Regions from separate parts of the Homo sapiens genome. Here region 2 is linked to region 1. Evidence: promoter capture Hi-C in human tissues and cell types (Jung and others, 2019). All regions are on one chromosome and are shown on one strand. The core of a region is centred on a gene start or on the middle of the fragment in contact, and the rest is flanking DNA. Distances in the headings are between cores, read along the strand shown. Region 1 holds the start of EBF1 (EBF transcription factor 1). Region 2 has its middle 130 kb from the start of LINC02227.

Region 1 (5,555 bases), core at 265-2,764:
TTTTGTCCTTTCTCCCCACCTTCCTTCTCTTCTCCCCCCACCCTTTTCATATGGCAGAGACAGAGTTAGGAAGGATTTGTTCAAGCCCTCCTTTTTAACAGGAAGAATAAAGGAGGATGAGAAAAACCCTACACCAAATAACCAGCTAATCAAGGACGGTTAACATTGCTGTTGCTTTGGTAGTTACTCTAAAAACAAACGAACCAACTACTTGGGGTGGGGAATGAGGGGTTGGCATTTAATTTGAGAAAATTTAAAAACGCATCCTGACACAGCCCCAGTGAGAGCATTCATTCCACCATTCACATATCTCGAGGACTGCCCGAGAGAGGTGAGCGTGTGAGTGAGAACAGTGCCCAACCCTGGCAGCCTCTAGGCTAGCGGCCGAGAGAGAAGCGTTTCAGAGGCCGGGGTGGGAGTAGAGCCTGGTACCCCACTTCCTGGGGACCCACAGCGCCTCATTTGCCGGGGCCCAGCGTCCATTCATCCCTCCCAGCGTGGAGGCCGTGCCCCTCCGAGAGTTACCAGCCCCGACCTCGCGCACCCATATTCCATCCCACCGCCCCCGCCTCAAAGCGAAGAGGTGGGCACCTGGGACGCGCGTCCTGCTTTTTCTGCCCGGGCTCTCCCGTCTCCTCCACTTTTGTCCCCGACGTCCCAGAACGGCGGAGCAGGACGCGGCATCAGCCCTGGGAGGGCGCAGCCTGCGAGCCTCCAGCGCGCTCAGGGCGCGGCGAGGATGCTAAAGGACTGCAATGGCCAGGATGCAGATCCCCAGCTCAAATTCCTGAGGAAGACACCCGCCTCCCTTTCCCTCTGTCCCCTCTCCGTCCTCGCTCGGACCCGCTCCTCCCCAGCCCAGACGTCAGTGCTCAGCGCTCCTTCGCTCGCCACTTTGCGAGGAACTTTGGCCGGCTCCCCTGCGCCACCGGGAGCGGGATGTTAATGAGAGAGCGTGGCCTGGCGCCGCCAGCGAGCCGGCTCCCGGGCCGCGATTGGCTGCGGTGGGCGGAAAGATGACGTTATGCAAATGAAGGGGCGGGGCCTCGATGCGCGGGCCCCGCCTCCTCCCTTTGGGGTTAGTGTGCCTGTGTTTAGCTCTGGGGAAAGTCAAACTGGATTCCATAGGGAAAGCCTGCAAATCACTTCTATTTTAGCAAGGAGAAAACAGAATCTCCATCCAGCAGGGTCCACCCCTCTCTCTTTCTCCCTCTCCTCTCTATCTCTCTTTCCCTCCCCCCCTTTCCTCTCTCCCTCTCTCCCCTTCCCCCCACCCTCTCTGGTGTATCTGTCTACGGCAACCAGCGTCCTCCTCATCTACACGCAAAGGAAAGAAACATCTTTGGTTGGGAGAGAAGGAGGAAAAAAAAAGAGAGAGAGAGGAAAAAACTTGCCTGGTTGTGGAAAATGACACTTGAAGTAGCAAAGCCGGCAGCGCGAGTTGAGTCTATTGTTTCTTAAATTGCCATCAGGGTTTTTTTTTTTTTTTTTTTTTTTTTTTTTTTTTTTTCTTCCTGCTTCTTCAAGTGAAGGGTACCTCTACAAAAGGAAACTCCAGCCCCTCCTGTCCTCCACCGGCCTGTGATCATTACAAAAAAAAAAAAAAAAAAGCAAAAAAAAAAAAAAAGCACCCAAACCAAAAATCAACCAACCAAACAACCCCCAACAGCCAAGCATACATCTCTAATTTTATTATTTTGGTCTTTTCGTTGGATTTTCCCTTTCTTCTTTTTTTCGGGTTATCGCTCAGTTTTGAGCAGAGGTTTACATTTTTTAAAAATTTGCTTTCCAGCCCGCCTTGATCTTCTAAGTGCGAGTTCATCGTCTGAGAAAAAAAAAAATCTCTGGTTGGCGTTTTTGTTTCTTTTCTTTTCTTTCTTTTCTTTCCTTTTTTTTTTTTTTTAATTTTTTTCAAGGGGGAGGAGATTTTCCACAAGAAAAGGTTGTTTTCATGTTTGGGATTCAGGAAAGCATCCAACGGAGTGGAAGCAGCATGAAGGAAGAGCCGCTGGGCAGCGGCATGAACGCGGTGCGGACGTGGATGCAGGGCGCCGGGGTGCTGGACGCCAACACGGCGGCGCAGAGGTGGGTACTGCGCGGGGACCGCGGCCGAGGTGAGCCGCGAGCGGGAGAGCCGGGAGGCGGAGGCGGCAGCGGCAGCGGCAGCTGCTGCCGCGGGGCCGGGCGGCGGGGTGAGTCCGCAGCCGCTGCGCTCCGCTCTCCGCCGGGGCTCCGCGCTCTCCAGCCGCTCTGCCTTCGTCGCCTGCGGCCGGAGGACCTGGAGCTGTCTGCGAGGAGCCCACGCTTTGCCAGCACTTTCCCCTGCCTCGTCTGTGACTGTTTTCATTTTGTTTTAACCCAGAAGAGGCGTCTCAACACAGCATGTTGGAGATCTGTGTTTTATGTTTTTATGTGATTGCTCTTTCTTTTCCGGCCGGCTCTCTTTTCTTCTTTCCCTTCGCTCTTCCTTTCCCTCTTTTCTTTTTTCTTTCTTTCTTTCTCTTCCTTCCTTCCTTTTTCTTTCTTTTTTCTTTTTCTTTCTTTTTTTCTTTCCTCCTTTTCTTTTTCCTTTTTCTTTCTCTTTCCTCTTCCTGCCTTTCTTTTTTCTTTCTTCCTTCTTTCCTTTCTCCCCCCTTTATTTTCTTCTCTTCTCCTTCCTCTTCCTTTCTTCCCCTCTTCCCTCCTTCCATTTCTTTCGTTCTTCGTTCTTTCCTGTCTCTCTTCCTGCCTTCTTTTCTTTCTTCTTTCTTTCATTTCCTTCTCTCATTTCTTTCCCCCACCTTCCCTTAATTTCTCCCTCACTCTTTTCCTTCCTCCCTTCCTCTCTCCATTTTCTTTCTCTTCTTTCTTCAGCTTCCCTCCTTTCTCCTCTTTCTCCTTTCCTTACCTCTCTGGCTTTCCTGTTTTTTCGTCCCATTTCTCCCCTGAGTCTTCTCTTATTTCTGCTATCTCGTTCTCCTTCCCTCCCTCTCTGTCTTTCAGTTTTTTCTTAGTCTACCGGTAGAATAGCAACTCCCAACTTTAATTCTGATATCTCCCAAAAGTCTTCTCCAGCCCCTGTCACCATGGCCCCTTCCAGCCCTTCTCTCACTCGCAGCTCCCTAGACACTAGACTGTGTGGCCTGGAGGCATTGCCCTTGGAGGTTGACCTGAGGGAACTTTCCTGGGCACACCCAAGGCTCTTTCCCAGGCTCCTGGTCCCAAGTGAGAAATGGCCTTTTTCCCCCCATTAAGCCACCAGCTGAGCTTGGGACAGTGGGAGATCTGGTGGCCCCAGGCCCTATCGGACTCAGAGTGCGGAAGGGGAAGAAGGAAGATGACTAATTACATCATCTCCAGCTTCCCTGGGCTGGGGACAAGTGTCCCCAACACTGTTCCCATCCCCACTGAGTATTAGGATGGGGGTGGGTGGTAGTGAGAGTGAATTGGGTAACTGGGCTGGAAGTGAAAGTGTGTGCGCGGGGCGCTCGTGTGTGTTCTTCTATGTGTGTGTGTGTGCCTGTGCGCGCTTGTGTTGGGCAGGTCCGGCTGTCAGTGGCCGCCTGGCGCCCCAGGCGCTCCAGCCTCCCATCGCCGGCCGGCGCACTGAGCCAGCAGCCCTGGCCTTTAGGATTTCTGGAATGAGTGTGAGGATTTCTGCGGAACAGCGAAACTTTGTTAGGACAGGTCTTTAAGAAAACACCCCTCTTCCCTTTTTCACAGCGACCACCCGCGACAGTTCTGAGCCCCGCCCTCGGACCCTTCTCCACATGCTTTTTGGTGGTGGGGGGATGTGGCTTCCCAAGGCCGGGCACTCGCAGTTGGCCAGAGCTTGAGGGGTTCCTGGAGGGTGGCTGCTGCGGCGAGACGCCGAGCATGTTTTCCATCCATTCCCACCTGCCCTGCTAGCTGAGACGTGAGATTCGAGGGGTGCCGGAATATAACTGTGGGTTCTACTCCGCGAAGGTGGGTTCACTTCATCCACCGCCACTTTTCTTCCTCCCCACGCAGTGCGTGTCAGGTAGGAGTAAATGCTTATAGAGTTTCATCTCGCGCGCAAAACCCAAACAAAACTTTCACACCTCTTCAGCGAGTTCTGAGGACGCACCCGTCCTTGGCGGAGAGGACGAGGACATGAGGGGACATGTGTGTCCCGTTGTCAGCTGGGTCTATGTCGCCTGAAGGGGCGTGAAGAGCGCCCACTGGATGTTTTGGGGGAAGAGGAGGTGGGTGTTTGAGGGTTCGAGTGTGTGTACAGGGTGACAAGGGGCGCGGGTCGGCGTCCGGTTTAGCCATCTAACTCTGCGTCTTTGGCCGCAGCGGGGTGGGTCTGGCCCGGGCTCACTTTGAGAAGCAGCCGCCTTCCAATCTGCGGAAATCCAACTTCTTCCACTTCGTCCTGGCCCTCTACGACAGACAGGGCCAGCCCGTGGAGATCGAGAGGACAGCGTTTGTGGGGTTCGTGGAGAAGGAAAAAGTAAGTGGGCGCAGCGCTGTCGCCCCTCGTCCCCGGCTCGGCTCGGGAGCAGGCCCGGGAGCCTTGGGCAGCGCGCCCTTCCTTGAGTGCAAAGCATCCATAACACACTTCTATGTGGGGGTCCCCCAAGCCACTTCCCATCCCAGACGAACCCAGGGTCCTGGTCCACTGGCTCCTTCTCCAGAAAAGTTCGCACGGAGCCCCCAGAGCTAGAGAGAGGCAAGCCTGGCTCTACAATCCACAGCCATGGGCACCCGGAATGAACCCGCCCTCCACTACCAGATTACGCACCGCCTGCCTCTGGTGGCCGGGGCACGAGCCCCTAGGCCCTGGAAAGAGGATAGCCTGTGTGCGCCCGACGGAATTTTCTTTTGGGAGAGAGGGAGCAGTCAGGAACAGGGGGCGGAGGAGGGATCACAATTGGCCACAATTTCTGCTGCTACCGTGGCTGCCTGGCTCGCCAGCGGGGGTCCCGGCTTGGGGAAAGTTGCCTCGAAAGTTGGTCCACTCGCTCACGCAGACCTCTCTCCTGCATCTCTTGTGTCTTTGCGTCCTGATGCAACCCAGGAAGCCAACAGCGAAAAGACCAATAACGGAATTCACTACCGGCTTCAGCTTCTCTACAGCAATGGTGAGGCCCGGGTCGGGTCTATGGCCTCACCCTGGGGCTCCGGGTCTGGGCAGGGGGCGCAGGGAGCTCCAGGTGGACGAAATCCTCCAGCGAAGGTCAGTCATCCGCTTTATTTGAGGTGAACCAGCCTCTCCTAAATTTCGCCCCAGGAGGTTTCACCTGAGGAGGCTCCTAGTGGCCCAAGAGCCTTATCGGTCTCGCGTTTACCTGGGGCCAGGTGTAGTGCCTCATCCCTCCCTGAGCCACTTTCATTCTTCCTCCCCTTCCTGAGGCCTGTTCCTTTGGCTTGGCCCAGGCTGCAGGCCCATGGCCCCTTGGGCTTAGGGGCTGAAGGGTCATGGCCTTGAAGGCTGTGTGCGAGAGCAGAGGGACTCTTGCCGTGAGAACAGACAAGTCGGGGTACCCCCATCCCAGTCCCAGCTGCAGAACTTGGCGTCTGGCTTCCAGGAGCGCTAAGGCAAGGCCAGC
Region 2 (5,737 bases), core at 1,091-3,590, 820 kb after region 1:
GATTTACAGTGAGAGATGTGCCACACTTCCTTTCACTCAAACACTTAGAGGCCATTGTAGGGTTATCAACTGGCCTAATTTGAATATTGTTGTGTCTCTGGGAATAGGGAAACCTGAGGAGATGGAGAGAGATGGGGAACAACCAGTGAGTAGAGCAGTCAGAACACACACAACAGTTATCAGTTCAATTCTTCATCTTCTATGGGCATGGTTTGTGGCACCCCAAAACAATTACAATAGTGACATCAAAGATCACTGACCACAGACCACTATAACAGATAGAATAGTCATGAAAAGGTTTGAAATATTGTGAGAATTACCAAAATGTGACACAGAGATGCAAAGTGAGCACACGCTGTTGGAAAAATGGTGCCAACAGACTCGCTCAGCACAGGGTTGCCAGAAAGCTTCAGTTTGTAAAAAATGCATTATCTGTGAAGCAAAATTAAGTGAAGTGCAATAAAATGAGGTGTACCTGTCACAGTTTTAAAATAGTTGTAAGAATTGCTTCTGTACTAGCAGCAATGATAGTAGTCGTTGTTACAACAGCGCATCCAAGTTCTATGCTAAGGAAACTCGAGCCCCTTCTTCCATCCTCAGCATCTCAGCCATACTGAACTGCTTCTACTTATCCCCAAACAAACACCATACTGTTTCATCTGTCCTGCTTCTTTTTCTATATTCTTCTTTTTCCTGGATTGTTGGTGTCCTATAAAATGGCCTGCTGAGGTCCAAATCACCGTTCAAATCTCAGATCAAGCATTAGTACTTCTGTGAGCTTTACCCTGATTCCTCAAGACAGCCTTAAACGTTCCCTATCCTATTTTTCTAGAAAGTCTCCCTACTACACTAAGCTAGTGAAGAACAGGAACATTTTACTTTATATTATTTTTGGCATTACTGTATTCCCAACACCTGACACAGTGGCTAGTGTATTGTTGATGTCCATGTAGGAAGCTTTGGCACCAAGGAACAGAAATTTACCTCCACCCCTACCTCAAAATGACTTAAACATGAAGCAAGCATGTTACCTCATACAACATGAAGTTCAAAGGCAGAGTAGGATCCAGGGCTCAGTTAATGTCTTCATATCCGCATGAGAAATCTGGCTCTTCCCATCTCCCTGCTGTCATACTCAGTGAGGTGGCCATGCCTTCAGTACAGAGCCTTTACAGCCACAGCCGTCATAGCCACAAGGCAGCCACACACATCTTCAGGCTCCTTATCCAGGGGCAACAACAGCAAAGAAAGAAAGGAACCATCTTTTCCTGTGCCTCCTTAAGAGCAGCTAAGAAACCTTTCCAAGAAGCCCCCTCAGACCTCTGATATTCATTTTCCCAGGATTAGGTTTTTATGTTCATTCCCAAACCAATCATTCACAAAGGAAATGAGATTACCATGATTACCTTAGGCTAGGGATCAGCAAACATTTTCTGGAAAGAGCAAGATAGTAAACATTTTAGGCTTGGCAGACCATACGGTGCCTGCCGCAACTACTCAACATGCCCTTGTGTTACAAAAGCAGCCACAGACAATATGTAAATGAATGAGTATAGTTATGTTCCAATAAAACTATTTATGGACACTGAAATTTGAATTTCATATAACAGTCACATGTCAGTATTCTTCTTTTAAATGTTTTCAGCCATTTCATAAATCATTCTTAGCTCAAAGGCCATACAAAAACAGGCAGCATGCTGGATTTGGCCAAAAGGCTATCGTTTGCTGACCCGTCACTTACATTATTTGGGGTTAAATGTATATTGAAATGCCATCCACCACAATGTCTCAAGTGTGCAATAAATATTTGAAAAGTTTAAGAATAAACAACTAAAGAAAACACAGCTCTTGTTTATGAGAACTTCATAGGATATCCATGTATATGATTTCCTGAAAGAGATTTTTCAAATAATGGTTTTGTCTAATGACGGTGGGTTCAGCAGAACTAAGCAAACAAACAAAAATTGTTGCTTGTGACAGATTAGCTATTAAATTATGAAATGGAAGATAAATAAAATTTTGTGTTAGAATGTGTGGGAAATACAGAGTTGAAGAACCCCTCATGAATCTAAATGCATAAAGCATTTGTTTGGATGGTAAGGAGGTAAAAGAGATCACTAATGGGTATTTCCAATGTTAACATCTTCTGACTTCACAATTTTCCAAACATAATGTTGCATGTATTCTGATGCAGGCAAAGAGATAATTACGGAGTAACTGCTTGCACTCAGTGTAAATTAATCAAATGTAAATTTAATAAACTGTAAATAGAAGATACTCCTAAGCTGATACGGCAAGCGAATCACCTCCATTATAGACTCATTTTTGCAAAATTACATCTAATCATAGTATTTTAAGATAGTGTTTGGCAAAACATCTCTAAATCTGTCAACAAAAGCAGCTATTACTTCTTTGCGGCTGAATACCTTTGCCAACAAACACCCATCTGTCTGGAAAGATTTATGTGTGGTTCTGCCTGAAGCCAGGGGTAAAAATCTCAATGACCTCTGGGGATTTCTTTCACCTTTGTGTTCAGAGAGTCAATAAAAATTCGTTTTAAAGTAACCTCAACTGCACAATCCGGAAAAAAACTACAAAGCTGAGACGTAATCAAGTTTGTCCCAAGAATCCCCCAAATAGAAATTCTTCTAGTAATTATACAGGTGATTTTGCTTGATCAACAATTTAATCTTGCTTGTCAATTGCTGCTTTAAGAGCCTCCAAGCTCCTTAATACAGCTCAGAAGAAAGACCCACAAGTCCCAATTAGCACCACCATACTTAATCCTCTACCAGACTGATTATTTTAGTTCTTCAAGCACAGACCTTGGCCCACACAGTTCCTTCTGCATGGGCCACTCTTTCTCCCTCCCCACAGCTCATTCGCCCCTTGCTGTGGCTGATGTGTTCTCTACCTTCAGGCCTTGGTTCACACTGGGGGATCAAGGAAACCTTCTCCCTCTCCCTCTACCGTCCATGAATTAGATGGCCCCTTTTAGGTGATAGCACCCTTTTCTTACTGCTTATAGTGAAAGTACTTTTCCGTGTAAGCATTATTCCCTTCAGCGTTGAGGACAGAAACTGGGTCTTCATTATTACAGCAAAAAGCAGAGGAGGCCAAGTTAGAAAGTGATTTATATGCCTTGCTAAAAAGTTTGGGCTTTATCCTGAAAGGTATAGAAAGAAGCTATTGGAGACATTTGTCATGCTCATATATACCTCACCAGAAAGTTCATATCAGCAACATCAGAAATGGACCTCCAGAGGATGAGGATAGACGGTGAGGGGTCCACACTAGCAGCACTGAGACCACTTAGGGAATGATTCCTGTGAGCCAGGTCAGAGAGGATGGAGGCCTGATCTACAACCATGAATACTAGGGATGGAGAATCATGGTCAGTTAGGAGAGACATTTAGGAAGCAGAAATCTGTGCAGTTCGTGACTGAGTACACAGTAAACTGAAAAACTTTGAGAGAGAAAAAAAATCAAGGTGAAATTTGGCTTCTGGTTTGGACAACTAAGCAAATTATAGTGCTAGTCACTTGAGAAAGGTTACAGAAGGAGGAACAAGTAGAGGTATGGAGAAAGTGATGATTACTTCCCTTGATACACTGACTTCAAGAAGCCTGCAAAGCATTTAGAAGGAGGTGACCAAGAGGCATCTGTATAAATACATATGAATCTAATGTAAAGAAGAGAAGTCTGGACCAAAGATACAAATTTGAGAGTCATCGGGTTGTAAAAGATACTGAACTCACCTATGCAGTTCATCAATGTATCAAATGTATATTGAAAAAATAGAGGCCTTGACCAGAAGCTTGAGCAATACCAACATTTGAAGGGTAACAGAAGAGGGGCTCATGAAGAAGACTGAGAAGGAGTGGCCAGAAAGGAAGGCAAAATCAAGAGGAAGTATAAAGTCAAAGGAAAGAGAAAGCTGCAGAAGATAGATATTATTAATCAGCTATGATTACATACCAATCACAGAATCTCAGGTGCATGCGGTAACAAGCATGTATTAACCTGCTCCCAGGTCAGCTACAATGGCTTTGCTCAGGCTGCAGGCATTGGCCGTAGCTGCTCAGCTCCACGTATCTCTCATTCTCTTGGGACCAGTGAGTGCCATGAGGCATGTTCTTCTCCTACTGATGGCAGAAGCCCAAGAGGAACATATGGAAGCTTGCAATGCCTTTTAAGTCGTAGTCTCAGGCTAGCACTCTACTACTTCTGCTTTATTTCATTGGCTAAAATAAGTCACAAGGCTAGGCTGTGCAGGTCAATGGGTAGAAAAGCGGTAAAAAGGGATCAGAACTGTGACTGTGGCTGCAGCAATTTCATAGGACGCTTTGTATTGTCCACAAGTAAAAAGTGACATTGTTCACTCGAACTAAACTATTGTTTTGTATGTTTTCAAACATACCTAGAGTTGGAACCTGGTTGGCCCATCCCTTTGGAGGAATCTAGCATGCCAGGGTCAGTCACTAGAAGTCACACCTTTATAAGAAGCCAAGGGGTTTCCCAGGTAAAAATAATCATACAGCCTGTGAGGATCAGGAGAGTGATAGGGTCAGGCTTTTTTGATATCAAAGGAAAGGCTGGCTCAAATAAGCTCATGAAAGGGGGGGAGTTTATTGTAAAGATATGTATTGAGTAGAAGTGGGAAGCTATCAAGAATAGAGTCATATCCAGGGGCTGAATACTTTCCACAGCTTTCCTTTCACGCAGATCTCATGGTCTCTTTCTCATATTATTTTAGCTTCTGTCTGCATTTCTGGACCATTCTCCTTATCTGTCAACTGATGCTTCTGTTTACTTGTACGTTCTGCTCCATCTGAAATTCTACTCACATGTACCTCTGCCTGGCCATGATTCTAACATGGGACATTTTTCTGTCCCTGCTTCTACCTGTCTTGAGCTCTTCAAGTTCCCCAGTTCAAACTCCTAAGGGGAAGATTTGGATTTTTCCAGCTTATTTCTCACAATGAGTTGTGTCACTGGAAAGCTGATTAATGGCTCACCCTTGAGTCAGGTAGCCATTCCTAATCTAGCCAGTCGTGACTACTGAGGGGAGGTACAGGAGTAAGGAAGTTTCTCTTAGGAAGTACTGTCAGTAGGGAGGTACCAGCTGAGCTTTCTAGTAAAGGGAGGCCCCCAGAACATTGGGTTTAGCATTCAAAGAAGAGTAAGTGGAATGTTCACTCTCTGTTTGGAGAGATCCCCCCATGGAAAGTTCATCCTGAAAGAAGGATTGGAGATGCTGACTAAACCCCAGGTCACTGACCAACTATAGATGTCAAGGAAGACTTCAGCATGGTACCCAATGGGATGCCTCTCATAGATCTCCAATTAAACCTCATTGACAAAAACTTGTCCCAGAATCCTTGAGATGAAAGCTAAAGAAATAAATTGAATACAAAACTGTAAAACTGAGAGGTGAGAAAGACTAAGACCACACCGTTTAGAATCCTTATGCAAGGATTGAAACACTGGCAGGGAGAGAGTCCTCCTCACTCCCTCATTGTGAGCAAAGAAGCAATAGGCGAGGAGCGATAGAGGCCATGACCATTTATGATGCCTGGTGAGATACCAAGATAGCCAGGATGGCTATGGTTGTCCTTCCCACATAACCAAAGAAGACAAGCAAGCAGCTGGAATAATAAACCAAAAGTTCTAGGCTACATCATGGCATTCCTTCATTTGATGCCCTCTGAATTCCATTTTGCAAGATTTGATTTCC

What was found. The method cuts DNA at HindIII sites, captures the fragments that hold promoters and counts their contacts. A contact is called where the count stands out against the background at its distance.
Region 2: a contact is called between a fragment that was not itself captured here and the fragment with the promoter of EBF1 in region 1, in 1 of the 25 tissues and cell types used here (spleen).

What each region holds. Positions count from the first base shown.
Region 1 is chr5:159,095,875-159,101,429 of GRCh38, reverse strand. It overlaps EBF1 (EBF transcription factor 1), which reads left to right and starts at 1,514. Exons shown (of 16, transcript NM_024007.5): 1 at 1,514-2,085; 2 at 4,300-4,456; 3 at 5,024-5,087. The coding sequence starts at 1,952. LINC02202 (long intergenic non-protein coding RNA 2202) reads right to left here and starts at 947. Exons shown (of 3, transcript NR_109890.1): 1 at 592-947. RefSeq lists enhancers at 1-605, 606-1,234, 2,984-3,877, 4,772-5,555 and a silencer at 2,052-2,341. The HindIII fragment of the contact is 15,907 bases long and covers 1-5,555 here.
Region 2 is chr5:158,274,142-158,279,878 of GRCh38, reverse strand. No RefSeq gene overlaps it. Among named protein-coding and RNA genes, the nearest start is that of LINC02227, 130 kb to the left of the region's middle. The HindIII fragment of the contact is 3,316 bases long and covers 683-3,998 here.